Regions from separate parts of the Homo sapiens genome. Here region 2 is linked to region 1. The links are contacts of gene promoters, found by promoter capture Hi-C in blood cells and fetal thymus (Javierre and others, 2016). All regions are on one chromosome and are shown on one strand. The core of a region is centred on a gene start or on the middle of the fragment in contact, and the rest is flanking DNA. Distances in the headings are between cores, read along the strand shown. Region 1 holds the start of TMX3 (thioredoxin related transmembrane protein 3). Region 2 holds the start of HMSD (histocompatibility minor serpin domain containing).

Region 1 (3,146 bases), core at 578-3,077:
GACCACTGGGTTGGGAGTGTAGACATGCAAATGAGCGTGGCTGGCCTGGGAGGCCGAATCCTTGACTACCACTCCCTCCAGGGACTGTAATGCACCGGTTATACACCAAGTTTGGTGTAGGGAGGGCACCTTCCCCTATGCCAGAAAAAGCCTTGCAATTGTCTATGGTCAAGCCTGAAAGATCACACACAGGAATTTGGGTCTGAAGTGAACCTCCTCACTTACTATAAGCAAGGCTGATTAATGCTGTCATACTATGAAGATAAATACAGTACAGTTACCAAATTCTAACACCCATTCAATATAATTAAAGGAAAAAGACATAAATACAAGGTAAGATAATGAGGAAAAAAAGAATATGTAAAAGTTTGCCACAGTTTTTTGATCTCATAACTATTAATAAAACTCTTCTGGGCACACCCTCACCTTCACTTACAACAAGTGAAAAAAATGAGTGATATATAAAAATTGGTTCCAATCTAAAATATTAGAATCACATGCAAATATTCAGATATCTGAGTTGGACAGTTAAAATAATATTTTAAATATATATATGTATACTCACGATTCATCTAAATCTTCTACAAATCCTTTACAGACGACCATATCAAGTACAACAACTGAAAAAAAAAGACAAAATGTACACAATAAATGCTGATTATTTGGCTCATACCGTATAAGCTTAGTCATCTCTGAAGTGTTTTTGACCTTTCACAACCTACCAAAAAATTCATCACTGATGCATCCCAGGGTGCAAATGATGCAAAAGCAAAGGTAGTTCATCCATTTAATAAATATTTAGTCTGTATGCAACCATATCGTGACCGGCCAAGTTCTAGGTAAGCCAATAAATCTAATACACACAGTTCCTTTTTCCTCCATATTTTCACTCTCATCTTACGTCTCTTTTTAACCATCCTATCTTTTTGGAATACAAATAGACAGCATTCTTCTTTATTTCTTTTGCTTTAGTAGCAATTACCTCTTCCGTAAAAACTCCAAATGCCATTCAAAATATTTCCCCTCAAATAGATACGTAGGAAGAAAGTCGAGCTGCAACTCTAATACTTATTACACGGCAGTGCCTGACACAGAGTGGGCTCTAAAAGGTTGTTAAGTGAGCGGACCCCAGTGAGAATGAGGGCACTCCATGCTGACGGGAGGCAGCTGAGAACCGCTGACACACACTCAGGTCCTTTTCACACCGCACAATCCCGGCGGCCTGACCCTGATCTGTCCTCGACCACCCTCTCTTGAGTACTGGTGGTAAAAATCCTTAAACGTGACAAGACTCGGAACCTAAAGCCAAGGCAAGATTTGGTCGTTAAGCTGGGACGGCGGCATCCTTCTTGCCCATCAAAGGAGTAAGCTTTATTGAAACTTCTGCCACAATGAGAAAAACACAAACACAAGGCAGCGCGCCCTTCCCACGTCCAGCATTGGTCCGGCACAGCGGCGGCGGAAGGACCCCAAGGTGTCCGCTCCGTCAGGGCCAGGCAGGGTGGCGCGGCGGGGGCGGCAGGACGCTGCCGGGAATGGGTGGGCATCTCCACGAACCCCGCAGGCCTCGCCCCAGACCCGGGTCCAATCCCGGCCCCACGGCGGGGCCAGGTCCCACGCGCCCGCCAGCGTCCCGACCGCTGAGCCCCCATTACCTGTGGCGCAGAGCCGCAGGGCCGTCCAACTCTTCCACGCTGCCATGCTAGCCCGGGAGAGCTGCAGAAGCTGACTGTGCAAAAGAGGGATAAAGACACTGGGGTCCGCCGCCTGCCCGCCCGGAAAGGGAAACGGAGCCGACCCGGAGCGGAAGAGAAGCACCGCGCTAACTACGGGGGCGGGGCTACCCGGCCAGTCTCCGTCTCCGGCTATGCGCGGGAGTGCGGCGCATGCGAGGGGAGTGCGGCGCATGCGACAGCGCCTGCGCAGTCATGTCTTAAGAATCCTTTGCGCTCTCGGTGCCCCCCTCCACGCCCAGGAGCGTGGGAACCCTGCTTAAGGGCTTTACTAGGGAAAACGGTGCTGGTTCACTGGGGCGCGTTTCCGGGAAGGTGAATACCGGTGAAAGTTATGCTGAGGGTGAGGTAGGCTCTGACGACGCACTTGCAGGTTGAATACTGGCACATCATTTACTTGTTACTCCCGTGTGGTGAGTGCACCTGTGGGTTTTGATGCTGGATCAAATTCCTGGAAAGAGGCGCGCATTAAGACTGCGGATTGCTGAGCTGCGCGACACTCCGTATTTTTCCAAAACGTATTTGTAATATTCTTTCAACCTGTTTGCATAATGGGACATCTCTTAAATGCAGCAAGCTTTAATGCATTTTTGCCAAAGTAAGGATTGCCTCTTTAAAAACTTTCTCTTGAAACTTGAGAACATGAAGTTAAGCGTAGGATATTTTTTGATGGCTCTTTTCTGATTATTTTGGAACTAGATAAAGTAGTATGAAATATTTATATTGCTACCTGTTTTTTCTTCTATACGACAATGATTTGTAAAAACCATATACTTTTATAAGACGGTTACTGCAGCAATCACTACTTACGAACTAGATGAAATTTTTATGGGACATAAGGTACCAGAGAATTTAGATCAAACCAAATTTTGAAAACCTGTGACAACAACAGAAGGGGGATATGATGTCAGCCGGTTCACCTTAGGTTCAAAATTCCAACAGGCAAAAATGTCATAAAACGTCGTTATTCCTAGTGACTAGAAGATTAAATTGCACTCTAATTGAGAGCAAGCCCTAAATGTCACCCCCTTTGTGCATGCAGCATGGTATCCAGCGCAAGCCCTCTACAGATTCAATTTTTCTTTTTCTTTCTCTTTTCCTTTTTTTCTTTTTTTTTTAAGAAAAAAGTAGACTAAAACGTAAGGGGACTGTTGAAATGATGGGAATGTTCTCCCGGTGGTGGTGGAACAGCTTTATAATAGTACCATCGCCTCGATACTCTTATACAGAAGCTTTTCTACTTTCTTGGCAAGGTCTCTGAATGACCCATATTCAATTTTTTTTTTTCATTCTCATGTATTTCAAAGTTTTCTGTCTTCCACAGCATGCAAAGTGAAATAATTTCCTCTTATATTTGCGTTACAGTTTAAGTTCACATGTGGACAACAACAAAAGCCAGTTGACCTAGATCTG
Region 2 (3,631 bases), core at 14-2,513, 4.8 Mb before region 1:
TGAAATCAAACTATGTGTAAAATAGTTGGATTATACATTGTGACTAAGTAAGATTGATTGCAGGTGTACAAGACTAATTCAACATTTGAAAATCAAAGGAATCCGTCATATCAACAGGTAAAAAACAGAAAAAATCCTCAAAAAATTGCTAGCAACTCCAATTCAACAACACATTAAACAGATCACTCACCACGATCAAGTGAGATTCACCCGGGTATGCAAGTATGATTCAATATACACAAATCAATAAATGCGATACATTGCATTAAAAGAACCAACAACAAAAACTGCACGATCATTTCAATAGATGCCGAAAATGTATTCAGTAAAATCCTACATCTCTTTATGATAAAAATCCTTAACACATTGGGTATAGAAGGAATATACCTCAAAACAATAAAAACCAAAATGAAAAACCCACTGCTAATATCATACTGAACAGGGAAAAATTGAAAACCTTTCCTATAAGATCTGCAACAAGACAAGGATGCCCAGTTTCACCCCCTTTATTCAGTATCTGACTGGAAGTCCTGGCCGGGGCAATTAGGCAAGAAAAAGAAACAAAGGACACCCAAACTGGAAAGAAAGATGTAAAATTAGCTTTGCTCACCAATGGTATAATCTTATAATCGGAAAAACCAAAAGACTCCCCTCAAAAACTACTAGAACTAATAAATGAATCAGTAAAGTTGCAGAATACAAAATGGATATAAAATATCCGTAAGATGTCTATACATCTACAGTGAACAGTCTGAAAAAGAAATCAAGAAAGAAATCCCACTTACAATAGCTATAAGAAATATGATGTATAAAATACCTAGTAATCAATTTAATTAAAAAAGTGAAAGACTTCTACAAGGACAACTATAAAACACTGATGAGAAAAACGTGAAGAACACACACAGAAAATGGACACATATTCATGCTCATAGGTTGGAATAATTAATGTTAAAAGTACAATGCTACCCAAACAATTTACAGATTGAATGCAATCCCTGTCAAAATACCAATGTCATTCTTCACAGAAATAGAAAAAAAAAAAAACCCTATAATTTGTATGGAACCACGAAAAACCCCAAATAGCCAAAGCGCATTATCGCTTCTTGACTGAAAACTCCCGGACAGTTGGGGCTTTTTCCTGCACAGAGATTGGCCACTTCCTGCACATCAGGAGATCCCCGCGGCCTGCGGGACCCGCCCCGCCCTCCTGCCCAGGCGCCCGCTAGGTGGTGCCTGGCTGGGCCCGACTCCGCCCGCCTCCCCATTCACTGGGAACTAACACCCGGCGCCGCTCAGACATCTCTATTCCCGCCTCTCCGACCCGGTCTCACTTCGCTCCTGGGCAGCTGCGCGGAGAACTGGGGTAGGTGTTTGACTTTGGGAGTGGTTCCCACACGCTGGATTCTCGTTACCTGCTCTTGAGCCCAGGAAAAGGGCGGGAACCTACGAAAGGGAAGCCCAGTGAAGTGCTCAGCGCACCTGTTGCTCCAGACCTTTCCCTGGGGCTGTCCTTCTTTACTCGGTCTCTGGCGGGGGCTCCCTAAGGGCAGGGACTTGGCTGCACTTGGCTGTGTGCCCTATGGGTCCAGGCGCGGGGAGGGGAGGCCAGGGCGAATGGGCGCGGAGCTGGGGGGTGAAAGTCCTGCCTGGGCTCCACTCATCCTGCAGGAGCTGGAAGTAGGTACAATGAGGCCTCCCACCCTGGTGAAGTTTATGTTGGGCGCTGGAAGGGGCTGTGAGGCCTGGGACCTCCAGGAAAAACAACAGCAGCAGTATTTATTTGTCGGTACCGAAACTCGTATGCTCTCAGTATTCAGAATTTGTACTTGACATTCCTCCTCCTTTAAAAGAAACCAGGAGAGGCGTTGATAGTATGTTTTTGGACTGGAAAAAAATCAAAATGAGGACGATACTGTTGCCAGAAAGCAAAAGTGTTGGGATAGTGTAAAAAGAAAGTAACCAATTTACAGAGATTCCCAGTAGACAAGTTGTGAGAATTTGCTCAAGAACAAAAACCAGTATGTGTTAATTGAAATACATGTTACAACAAAGCCAAGAAAGAGTCCTTTAGTAAATTCAGATAAAACAAGTAAAATGGGCCAGGCGCGGTGGCTCACGCTTGTAATCCCAGCACTTTGGGAGGCTGAGGGGGGCGGATCACGAGGTCAGGAGTTCGAGACCCAGCCTGGCCAATATGGTGAAACCCAGTCTCTACTAAAAATACAAAAATTAGCCGGGTGTCGTGACATGGGCCTGTAGTCCCAGCTACTCAGGAGGCTGAGGCAGAAGAATCGCTTGAACCTGGGAGGCAGAGGTTGCAGTGAGCCAAGATTGCACCACTGCACTCCAGCCTGAGGGACAAAGCGAGACTCTCTCTCAAAAAAAAAAAAAAAAAAAAAAAAAAATGTAAGATGAGTTTAAAGGAGGCAGGAAATAATTTCAATAATGTTTACAAGAAATGCTGTGTGATGATTCATATACGACTGCTGTGTAGGAATAGTGACTATAGGCACCTAGGTTGACAGGCACAGTGGTTACAAAAACCAACCTGAAGGCCTAAATATTAAACCAGGAGACTTTGAAAGCCAACTTGTGGATAGAACTCTGTGTTACGCAAATCAGATGCACGAGAACCTCAAATAGTATTTCATTTCAAGGAAAGGCATTTGGCAAAAAAAAGAAAAAAGCAAATTTAATAGTTGTCTTTGCAAAATCCCAATGTAGGACCAAACTGCAAAATGGTCCTTACATTTGTTTGGCTTTAAAAAGCAGTATGACCTGAAAAGTAGCAGTGTCAGGTCAGTCAGAGCCCATGTCCCAACCATCAATCTGGCAGCCCCATCCTATTGTTTTTGTGAATAGGAGATGGTCTGTTATTAATTTAACCCCAGAAAAGTATTAAAATAAGCATTACCATCACCCTAGGAAATATAAAAAGATAGAGTGAAGATAAAGTGTATAAAACCCACAGTATTACTAGTGGGGTGCTAGAAATAAGTTTTATAATCACTGTTGTACAGTTGTATTTTAAAACATGTTTGAAAGTCTTAGGAGAATCTAGTTTAACAGATTTATAAGTGTTGATTTATTCAGTTTATTATTGTACAAATGCTTATATTAATGATATAGTTGTTAATTTTGTAAGTTTGTTCTTTAAAGTGATTACATCTTTAAAACATCTGATACATTAAGCTTTATCATCAATGCTTAAATGTTTAAAATAACGTATTTGCTGTGTTAGCAGTGTGCTTTAAAGTTTAAGGAAAACAATTTGTTTACCAAATTAACAAGAAATTAATTGATCATTGACTAAATAAGGTATAATAATAGAAAAAATTGGTCTCTGTTTATGAAAATTCTGCTTCGGGAATGAAAATCTTACAGACTAAATAAACCTGCACTCACCAGCAGGGGGGAAACTGTGGGAGATGAGAAATGGGAGTGATAGATTACTCATATGTGGTTGAGCATACGAAGAAATTACTGAAAGAGCTTGAGTGATCTGTAGAATATTTGGTGGGAGGGGAATTTGCCATAGATTTTTAAAAAGTGAAAACAAGAAAAGAGGGGAAGGCAATAGTGACATAAGGAAAAACAGACGTGTAAAAAAAGCAATGCATCCATTATTGAT

The links. Contacts are between HindIII fragments. The CHiCAGO score rates a contact against its expected background, and 5 or more counts as called.
Region 2: a contact is called between the fragment with the promoter of HMSD here and the fragment with the promoter of TMX3 in region 1, in 1 of 17 cell types (total B cells). The highest score is 5.8, in total B cells.

The regions. Positions count from the first base shown.
Region 1 is chr18:68,713,281-68,716,426 of GRCh38, forward strand. TMX3 (thioredoxin related transmembrane protein 3) reads right to left here and starts at 1,828. Exons shown (of 16, transcript NM_019022.5): 1 at 1,656-1,828; 2 at 566-620. The coding sequence starts at 1,701. It also overlaps a transcript of CCDC102B not described here. RefSeq lists silencers at 1,476-1,575, 1,756-1,885 and an enhancer at 2,086-2,155. The HindIII fragment of the contact is 941 bases long and covers 1,368-2,308 here.
Region 2 is chr18:63,948,038-63,951,668 of GRCh38, forward strand. It overlaps HMSD (histocompatibility minor serpin domain containing), which reads left to right and starts at 1,264. Exons shown (of 4, transcript NM_001123366.2): 1 at 1,264-1,363. RefSeq lists a silencer at 1,102-1,331 and an enhancer at 3,464-3,553. The HindIII fragment of the contact is 6,685 bases long and covers 1-3,190 here.